2 separate regions of the Homo sapiens genome follow, and region 2 is linked to region 1. The links are contacts of gene promoters, found by promoter capture Hi-C in blood cells and fetal thymus (Javierre and others, 2016). All regions are on one chromosome and are shown on one strand. The core of a region is centred on a gene start or on the middle of the fragment in contact, and the rest is flanking DNA. Distances in the headings are between cores, read along the strand shown. Region 1 holds the start of MBD4 (methyl-CpG binding domain 4, DNA glycosylase). Region 2 overlaps RAB7A (RAB7A, member RAS oncogene family).

Region 1 (5,190 bases), core at 1,256-3,755:
TGATAAATGGCACTTTTAAATGGTTTCCTCTATGACAATATAAATTTATAAATATAACTAAAATGCAACCTACCCGTTAACCATTCACAGAAGGAGGGACAAAATGTATGTAATTTTCCCCAAATCACTTGATGTAATTAATAGCAACATTGAAAGAATAGAATCTGCAATGGTTTTATGGTAAAAATATAAAGAAGCTAAGATTCCTGCTATGCTCCCACTACCTGCCCAGACAAAATCATTTGGCTGTACTATCTTTACCATCTTATATGCTTACCTGATAAAGTACACATCAAATCTTCCTGCTGTCTTCCCAAATAACCTTTGCTTCACAACTCTTTCCCATCCACATGGGACAGACTTACGGCATTCTGTTCCTGCAGTAGCACCAAACTGAGCAGAAGCGATGGGTTCTTGTAGCAAGGGATTACATTCACTGCTTCTTTTTATCATCATTTGTTCCTCATCTTCTCCCACTCTTTCCAATTCCATAGCAACATCTTCTTTGCTGGAAAAACAAAGTCTAAGTGATTAACTTATTTAAAATTTATCTTCCACTGCCTACTCAGTTTTAATCCATGACAATGCAGGAACCACATAGATTATCCATATTAAAATGAGGGAGATTAAAGTCAGTGTGGACCAGTCTTGTGCTATGGGAGTATTTTCCTGTCTTCCAAAAGCTTCCCATATCCTCTAGCACAGGTTAAAAGGTGTTGGAAATCTCTGCACAACAAAAAAGTCAAGCTAGAAACTTTTCGGATTAATCACTGAGTAGGGCTATTATAAAGATTTCTGGGGGCACTTACCATAAATTTGAGAATATGAACCAATAGCTAAGCTCTTAAGCACCAGAAAATGCTTAAATAAATCAGTGAGTTACACTGTCTTCTCTGCAAATAAATGAGGTAAAAGTTTTACATAATGTAAAATTTCTGGGAGAGAGTGTGTATCACTTTCATCAGATGTAATCCTCCAGAAGGTAAATAATTTGATACAGAATTTTTGAATCTTCTTCATTCTTGATCCTCATGGTAACCTTGTAGGTACAATAAGGTTTACTCTCAATTTATTGATAAAATTGAGTGACAGGTTAAATTACTTGCAGAACAGACACGAGAACCCAAGTCTACCAAATCTTGGTCTAATACTTCTCCCCCATACTGTTATTGAAAAAAGCTGGCAAGGCAAGGTGGCTCATTCCTGTAATGCTAGCACTTTGGGAGGAGGAAGTGGGAAGATCACCTGATCCCAAGAGTTTGAGACCAGCCTGGAGAGCACAGTGAGATCCTCGTCTTTGCAAAAAATGAAAAAAAAAACCCAAAAAAACAAAAAAAAACAAGCAACCGGGCGTGGTGGAGCATACCTGTGGTCCCAGCTACTAAGGAGGCCGGGGTAGGAGGACTGCTTAAGTCCGGCAGGTCAAGGCTTCAGGGAGCTATGATTGTGCCACTGCACTCCAGCCTGGGTGACAGAGCGAGACCTCATCTCAAAAAAAAACCCACTAAACTAAAACTTCATTAAAGTTCCAATGTGTCTTCTATGATGAAAACATACTTTTAAAATTAAAAAAAAAATTTCAGTAAAGTGTATCCTAATCACTAAACCACAGATTGTAAAAGGTGGATGGGTCTAGAGAGATCATTTAACCCAAGTTCTTTTCTACAAATAGGGAAACTGCAAGAACTAGAATTAGAATCAAGGTTTTCTGATGTAATTTGGGGTAAAATAATTTTGAGGAGCTGGATGGATCTTATGAAATGATATTGTTTACAATTTTAGAGATAAAAATACTGAAGCCTGGTGGAATCAGCACAAACTCTTAAGAGACTGGGGCTCAAATTCCAGCTCTACCAGCTGTAAGTTTAGCAGCAAGTTACTTAACATCTCAAAGTCTCGGTAAAAGACTCTGTAAAAAGAAGGTGATGCCTCTTTCAAAGTAGTTCTTAGTATTAAATTTTGAAAAAAGTAGGTAAATCTTAACCTCCTATCACACACGTAGTCTAATGACTTCCTAGGATCCTCCAACCCCAAGGGGACCTCTTTCACAAAACCTCCCGGCTCCCCCCCAGTCTCCCTAGTCATCTTAGATGAGGAAGTCGAGCGCACCCCAGGGCTGATCGCACAGGAAGAGCACCTGGGCTCCAGACCCTAGTAACTAAACCCGTGGGCTTCGAGGTTTCTGCCGACCCTCTGTCAAAGGTTAGAAAGGCCCACACACTGTCCACTCTCCCGATACCATTTTACAGGTGGTGAAACTGAGGCCCAAAAGGGGACAGTAACTTACCGGAGGTCATTCGGCGGGTCTGGGACTAGGCGCTCACTAGAGGTGACGGTGGGGGCAGCTCCGCGGTCCCCCAGACTCAGACTCTCCAGCCCAGTCGTGCCCATCGAGCAGGGTCCGGCTGCAGCAACGAGCCCAGCGCCGCAACGCCCAGGGTGTGGGGCGGAGTAAGATGTGAAACCTCTTCAGCTCACGGCACCGGGCTGCAACCGAGGTCTGAATGTTGCGAAAGCGCCCCAGACGCCGCCGCTGCTTTCCGGCCGCCCCCTCGGCTACAGCCGCCATTTCCACGCTCCACCAATCAAATCCATTCTCGAGGAAGACGCACCGCCCCCACACGCCCCGACCAATCGCTCGCGCTCTGGTTGCGCTGGCGCCTTAGGGGCTCCAGTGCCACCATTGCTTTTGCTGCTTTTCTGGCTTTCCCTTTCGGACATGCGCGCTCGGAGCAAGGCGCCCTCGCACTCAGCTTACCGCGCATGTACGTTGCCAGGGGTAACGCAGGTAGCCAAAGTGGCTTGTGGAGTGGCGACCGTTAGTGAGGCGGTTGCTGAGACAGACGCTGAGGCGGGTAGGAGGAGCCCGAGCCGTAAGGGAAGCCGTGATGAGGGCCGTGTTGACGTGGAGAGATAAAGCCGAGCACTGGTGAGGAGCGGGGCGGTTCGCGAAGAGCAGGAGGTCGAGTCCTCGCGGGGAGTGCGCGAGCCGCTGCAGCGTGTTTGAGGGGGGCAGCGGGCTTGCTGCCTGGGCCGAGGGCACTGAACCCCGGCCTGGGAGACTGCAGGGTCGCCCTCCCGCCCCTTGGCGGTTGGAGAAACTCCCGAGGGTTGGAGAGCGGCAAAGGGAGGTGCCGCGCCTGAGGTGGTGGCGGGTGGAGGCGGCTCTTCCCTCACGGTCTGGCCCTGTCGCTGCCTTGGATTCATCTCACACCCACGAGACAGCACGAAGCTGCTCAAGCTTCACAGTTCTTGCCACATCCACATAGTACCCATACTCTTGTTTTCTTGACGTTTTTCTCTAAATTGTCTCATTTATTTTAATTATGATTTCACATTTTACAAGGAAACTTTATTACTCCATTTATGAAAACCAGTGTCACTTGCTCTAAATGTTAAGATAAAATCAGCGTCGCTTGCTCTAAGTGTAAAAGTAAAACTTAAAGTAGGGAGAAACAAAACTGAACAAGCTGTAGCTAGCTATTGTTGCTAGGGAGCCTTTAAACCTGAGATCTCGTTTCTCTAAAACTGGAGATGGGCAGGTATGATCAGAAAGGTGCTCAAAATGAGCACCAAACACAAGCTCTCCTAATTGGGAAGTCTGAAAAAGAACTGAAGGGGAATGACTTTGTCACCTTTTGATTCAGTTATTTAATGTCCTATTCCATTGTTATCGCCTAAATCTATAACATAGCAGTCTGTTTTGTCATATTCTTACTTATGGGATAGGTCTTGGCCTGACTTTGAAAATCATTCAGCATTGTTGTGAAGCCTCTGTTCTGGCCACTGGAGCAGGTTACTTGTCTTTGGTTCTGTCCCTTCTGAGATCTTTCTCTGTGTAAAGCATGCCGTCTCTCCTCATCTCACACGGAAATCCTGAACATCCTTCAAGGCTCACGTTGGAGACGGGTCCTCTCTTTTGTGTTCGGCACTAGTGGTAGCTGACACTATGTGCCAGGTGCTGGCTAAGCACTTCATATCCTTTATCTCGTTGTGTCTTCACCACTCTCTAAGGTAGGTACTATAATTTCCTCTATTTTATGTATGAGGAAACTGAAGCCCAGAGAGGGTGGATAATTTGCCAGCGTCACACAGTGAGGGGTGGAACCAGCTTTCAAGCTCAGGTCTTCCTCACTCCAACGTCAACGCTCTCAGCCACTACATTAATTTTTCCTTATGTTACAGACGTGGCAAACTCAAATGTCTGCAGGAGACAGGCAGGTAACATAAATGGGAGATGTTTATTTGCATCTTCAACACTAGGAATTGTATGTTTTCCCTAGGAATAGTCTTGTATTCTGTACCCCATTTTTCTTGAAACACAGCCGTATCAGTGAATCTTTCATTTGTACTTTTAATAGAGATTTGAGTTTTAAAAAATCATTTTACTTTTAACTTTATTATAAACGTACCTATAGCACAAGCTGATGATAGCTGGCAACTGAACATTTGGCTTCAATGTCAGAGTAATAGAGTGTGGCAAACTGCAGAGCTCATGCTCGGCCTAAAAGGGGCAGCTGCTGCTCAGCTCCTGCCAATTACCACCATGCAGGAATTTGGCCTAGTGTGCTCAGCTCTTCCTGTTTTTACCAGAAGCTAGGAATCTGGGTTTTTATGTGAAATGGCCTAATTTTTAAATGTTAGCATCCACTCTGAAAAAAAAACAAAACACCGTGTGGGCCAAATAAAACATTTGCTGGCCGAATGCAGCCTGATTTGCTCTGTTTTCAACCCCTGGCACAGAATTTTGTTCATTTCTCTCTTGTGGTACTTCCAGAGTCTGTTGAGCATAAGAGTTAATTTTTTAAATCTGTTTAATTCAGAAGTCTAATAAACCCGTTAAAGGCAATGGCTATGTCTTACTCGTTTCCAAATTATTCTAGAGACAGGTCAGTGGTTGTTGTTACTATGGATAGTAATAAAATACTAGATATATATAAAACGAAATACTGTGGGTAGATGTATTCATACGTGAATGAATGATGAATAAAGATTGGTTTTCTGGTTTTTGGCCCATTACAGATTTGAGACAACCTATTAGGATAAGGGATGTAGGGGTTCTATAGACCATCAATCCTGATGGCTGCTAGATATACCAGCTGATAGCCCAGAATGAAAACAAAACAAAAAACTAAACAAAAAAAAAAAAGACAGTAGAACTAAAAAAATCCTAGATGTCAAAGATTAGTC
Region 2 (5,190 bases), core at 685-3,184, 640 kb before region 1:
TGGTGCAATCACAGCTCACTGCAGCCTCAACCTCCTGGTCTTAAGCCATCCTCCCACCTCAGCCTCCAGAGTAGCTGGGACCACCAGTGTGTGCTACCACTCCTGGTTAAATTTTTGTATTTTTTATAGAGACAGGGTTCTACCATGTTGCCCAGGCTGGTCTCAAACTCCTGGGCTCAAGCAGTCCACTCGTCTCGACCTCCCAAAGTGCTGAGATTACAGGCTTGAGCCACCATGCCCAGCCTTTGAAGAACCTTTTGTTCGCTAGCATTTGCCCAGCCCCAGACCAGTGGGCTAGGGCCTAGATTTGTGCTCTCTCTCCTACCCCGCAACTCCATCCCCGTCGGGATGGAAAGATAGTGCTTTTAGGCCTGCCTTCCCCAAACTTGTGCAAAAAGTCTCACCAAGCCCTTGTTCGATTCCAGGTTTTGCCACCTCTCACCTTGTAGATTCTGGCTTAGATGGTCTGGGTTGGAAAACACTGCCTTCGGCTGTCTAGGTACCTCCAGGTTCTTTAACACAAATATGAACATGTTCCTTTGTGGCCAAGAAAGGTGATATCACTGGCTATGGGGGGGAAGGTTTTTGTATTAGCTTTAGGTTACCTTAACCTTATCACACAAAAATCACACATTGTCTCTTGCTGAGTTTTCTTACTAGAAAACATATTTGGAGGAGCATTCTTTGAGGTGGATTTGTTTTGGTGATATATTGGTGCTTTTTCTGCTTCAGATTTTAAACTTTAAAGCAGCAAATTGTCTGAGTGGTGTGTGTCTGCTGAAAGCCAAGGTCTTCCTCCTGGTGTTACTTCATCAAGCTAAATAGCAGCCACTAAATGGAGAAACATCTAAGATAGCAGGGATACTGTTGGAATAGCAGAACAGTCTTAATAGTGAAGCTTCTTTTAGAAAGCAGTATATTTGCTGGCATCCTTCTAGAATGGAAAAAATAATACTAGGCTCTACCATTTGACCTGGCTGTGCCAAAACATGTAAGCAGCTTTTCCACATCTGCCCCACATCTGTACCCTATATTTTTACCCAGAGAGAAAACACAAAACTTCAAAAGTGTAATGCTCGGAAGGCTACTGGCATTGCCCTTTGCTGTGAGGGCAGTTTCTTGTCCTTCAGGTCAGGCAGATTCTTTTAAATGCTTCAAGTAATTCGTGTCAGTTTCAGGACCCTCCTATTTGACTTATACTTATGGTTTTTCTCCAATTTCAGAGTCGGGAAGACATCACTCATGAACCAGTATGTGAATAAGAAATTCAGCAATCAGTACAAAGCCACAATAGGAGCTGACTTTCTGACCAAGGAGGTGATGGTGGATGACAGGCTAGTCACAATGCAGGTAAGCACATGTCTTGGCTGTGCTGACCAGGCCTTGATAGTTCATTTAGTCTTAATCTTTCCTCATGCATAGACATTTTCCTTCCCTGTTCTTCAAATCTTATTATCTTATTTGTAGATAATTGGCTGATACTCAGTTAAATTTGAATTTCAGATCAATAGTGAATACTTTTTTAGTATACTTCTAGTGTATCTCAGATACGACTTGCTAAGACACACTAAAAAATTCTTCTTAAAAAAAAACTCAGATTTATCCTTTCTTGTTTTTTGTTGTTTTTGGTTTTGTTGTTTGCTAAATTTGGCAACCTGCAGGTCTCTGTCTTGTGCCTCTCTTGACATCCTTGCCCAGTGCTTTAGGTAAACATCTTTGTCTCACCTCAGTAGTGAGACATAAACTTTATTTTTCTGACTTCCTATTTCATACGTAACTTCAAGAGTTGTGTGTCTATTGAGCCAATCTTTTTTTTATGTATCAGCTTATTAATCTTTCAAGGGTTCCCTTTCAACAGTTAGGATAAGATACAGATTCTTTCATATGACTTGTTGAAAAGCCTTCACATTCTGGCTATAAACTATTATTCCCTTTTTTTCCCCCATTGAGTCATTTTGTTTGTATACATGTATTAACATCCCTAGAAAAGAAACCCCTGAAGGATGGATACCTTGAGCCCAGGAGTTTGAGCCTGCAGTGAGCTGTGACTGCTCCATTATACTCCAGCCTGGGTGATGGAGTGAGACCCTGTCTCTAAATTTAAAAAAAAAAAAAAAAAAAAAAAAGAATCCCAGGATTTTCCCTCCTGTATTTTCATCTCTTTCTTCATGGTCCATGATGCCAGCTGAGGTTGTCAGTACAACCTCACTTTGAAACCAAACTATTGGGATAGGAGTAGATTATCCTGTCATTTTTCTAGATCTTTGAGTTGCACATCACATCTGGGGCCAATCATTCCAGGGGCAGTTTTAACCTGCCTGTGAGGTTTACAGTAATTTTCCCAGCTCTGTGATGACCAGTGATTTCAAATTTTCAATGTGATCATGTTTCATCTTCACACTTAGAACCAGACCATGACTTGGGAGCACAGCCTAATAAGAACCTGGTGTTTGCCCTTGAGAGCATCAGCCAAGACGTTCATGCATTACGGAGGCAAGAAAAGATGGTGGAAATAGCTGTTACTCACTTTTTTTTTTTTTGTCTCGTTCCAGTCATTCCGAATCATGTGCTGCTCTTACAGACTTGTGTTGGTGGATATGTCTCTGCTTCCAGCAGGGCCTGTATACCCACCTGAAGTCTCCAACTTTTAGCTCAGATCTTTGGAAACTTCTATCTCCATGGCAGTTGTTCTTTCCTATGTGCTTCTAGAGGCAAATACAATTCTAATCCCATTATAGTCCTAGAAAGTACCTGGCAAATAGTGGGGGCTTGCTGAAATGTGTGAATGATGTAGGTTAAAGGTAGAAATTTGTGCACGTGTTGACCTCGAGCCATGGCATGCTCCTAGAGGATCAGGACTCTTAATTGACTCACACTTCTAGGACAGAGCTGGTATGAATCTCTCATCCTCACCTCACCTACACACATACACCTAGAGATCTTCAAAATGTAACTACAGTTTAAGCAAGTCAAGCTTGAGAGTAGAACTGGAAAACCTTGGCCCAAGAAATTGGCAAAGCTTGTGTCTGCAGTTGTTGGAGATTCTCAGTCCCACTCTCCACATGTACAGAAATCTTTGTCTCAAAGGATTTAACATAAATCCCTGTCATTCCTGGCAAAAACAAGGGTAAGACCACTCTGTAGGGACATTTAGTACCGCAGGAGAGAAGATGAGTTCATAACCACATGAGGAAATAATGTACCACAAGAGATGTTCACAATGACTAGAGATGTTCTAAAAAGAAATAGAAACCATAATGGAAAGGGATACTATAAAAAAATGAGGATATGGAAAACTTAGAACTTCAAGAAGTGAAAACATAGTATTGAAATAAGCTAAAGGAACAGTTAAACTGTAGATTAAATGGAGCTGAAAAAAGCAGTAAGCCGTAAGAGCTGAGCAAATTTTCTAAAAGAAGACTTAAAATTGTAGAAGACCGAAAAGCAAAATCTTAAGAGCAACTATAGAAAAAAAAGACATGACTTATAAAGGAACAACAGACTGACAAATTCTCAACAGAAGGCAGAAGGGAGTAGAATTACTTCAGGGAGCTGGGGTAAAGGCCCATCTGAAGATTCTCCATGTGTCACAGCAAGACTCAGACTGCCTTTTGCTGAGGGAAAATAGAACTTCTCCAGCTGAGCTGTGGTTTTGGTAGCCATGTGGGCCAGCGAATTCAGAAATCAGAGTTCGGCCCCTGCTGGGTCGGGGGTTGTCATAACAGTCCCGTCTGTACTACTAAGCTGGGACCTTGGGGCGCTGCACTCTTGAAGTAAACCCCATCAGGAGATCCACAGCGCACTGTGGGCTTCTCAAGAAGCCCAAATTCCAGGAAGGATAAATAAAAAGAATTCTGTGTAAGTCATAATGAAACTAAAAAAGAAAAAGGCTTAAAAATAGACTGAGGAAAACCTGACAAGCACAGCACTGAGGCTGTCAGGTGACTCTTGGCAGTAGCAGCAGAGCCCAGCAGGCAGTGGGGTATGTTGGGAAAGAGACGGGCAGCACAGTGTTCTGTCTCTGCTGAAATAACCCTCCTGAATGAAAGAGTACATCTTTAAGGGCTAGTGGCAGAAGTTCTAAAGGATAACTCCAGGCAGAAAGTGATTTCATGTAGATGAGGAAAGAGTGGAAAAAGATAACAAGTTCCCAAGAGATTGAAGCAAAAGGATGACCCTTGTGCTCTTGCAGCCAGCTTCAGATACTAGAAGTAAATGAAAATCATTGTCTCTGCACAAAGGCGTCATTATCCTGATCTTGAGGAATCCTCATGTGTTTTTCGAGGGCTTTTAGCAGCTTGCAGTAAAACATAATCAAAATAAAACAAGGCACCACAAGAAAGAACCAGTGGAAACTTCCCTGGTAATTCCAGAGTGTTTTTTGTATTTAAAGAAATAAGGAGGATACAGAGTTTCAGTTATATGAGATGAATAAATCCTAGAGATGTGTACAGCATAGTGCCTGTAGTTAACAATACTGTATTGTACACTTAAAAATTTGCATGCTGGATGCGGTGGCTCATGCCTGTAATCCTAGTGCTTTGGGAGGCCAAGAGAGGAGTTTGAGACTAGCCTGGGCAAAATAGCACATTTCATCTCTACAAAAAAATTTTTTGAAAGAATTTACTAAGAGGATCTTATTTTAAGTGTTCTTATCACAAAAAGTAATAATAAGAGGATGGGGGGAACCTTTTGATGAGTAGGTTTGTGGCCTACATTGTAGTGATGGTTTGTGTGCAGCCTTTGTATGTCAGCCATACCTCACTAAAGGGGCTTTGGTTAAAGATAAGATAATCGTTTATCTGCAGGGAAGAAACGAAACAGTTAACATTGATAGGGGGAGAAAATGAAGCACAATCAATGAAATTTGGAAATTCAGAGAATGCTGCTAAATCATAGCAGATTGGCCACACCAGAAAAGGGCTGGAAGAATGAAAGAAAAATGGCAGGAAATATGAAAGAAATAAGTGAAAGTGAGAAGGTTGGACCTACTTTTAATCAGTCTCAGAAGGTGTAAAGAGAGAATAATAGATCAAAGATGATATTTGCTGAGAATTTTCGAGAATTGGTGTGGCACCAATCCACTGACTCAAGAAGCCCAAATTCCAGGAAGGATAAATAAAAAGAATTCTGTGTAAGTCATAATGAAATTAAAAAAAAAAGACTTAAAAATAGACTGAGGAAAACCTG

Evidence for each region. Contacts are between HindIII fragments. The CHiCAGO score rates a contact against its expected background, and 5 or more counts as called.
Region 2: a contact is called between a fragment that was not itself captured here and the fragment with the promoter of MBD4 in region 1, in 1 of 17 cell types (total B cells). The highest score is 5.7, in total B cells.

Annotation. Positions count from the first base shown.
Region 1 is chr3:129,437,443-129,442,632 of GRCh38, forward strand. It overlaps MBD4 (methyl-CpG binding domain 4, DNA glycosylase), which reads right to left and starts at 2,506. Exons shown (of 8, transcript NM_001276270.2): 1 at 2,288-2,506; 2 at 278-508. The coding sequence starts at 2,391. IFT122 (intraflagellar transport 122) reads left to right here and starts at 2,782. Exons shown (of 30, transcript NM_052989.3): 1 at 2,782-2,929. The coding sequence starts at 2,889. RefSeq lists enhancers at 2,336-2,415, 2,506-2,645, 2,846-3,055, 3,206-3,255, 3,286-3,335 and 1 more. The HindIII fragment of the contact is 2,558 bases long and covers 682-3,239 here.
Region 2 is chr3:128,796,720-128,801,909 of GRCh38, forward strand. RAB7A (RAB7A, member RAS oncogene family) reads left to right here. Exons shown (of 6, transcript NM_004637.6): 3 at 1,224-1,350. It also overlaps the pseudogene RPS15AP16. Among named protein-coding and RNA genes, the nearest start is that of MIR12124, 47 kb to the right of the region's middle. The HindIII fragment of the contact is 2,076 bases long and covers 897-2,972 here.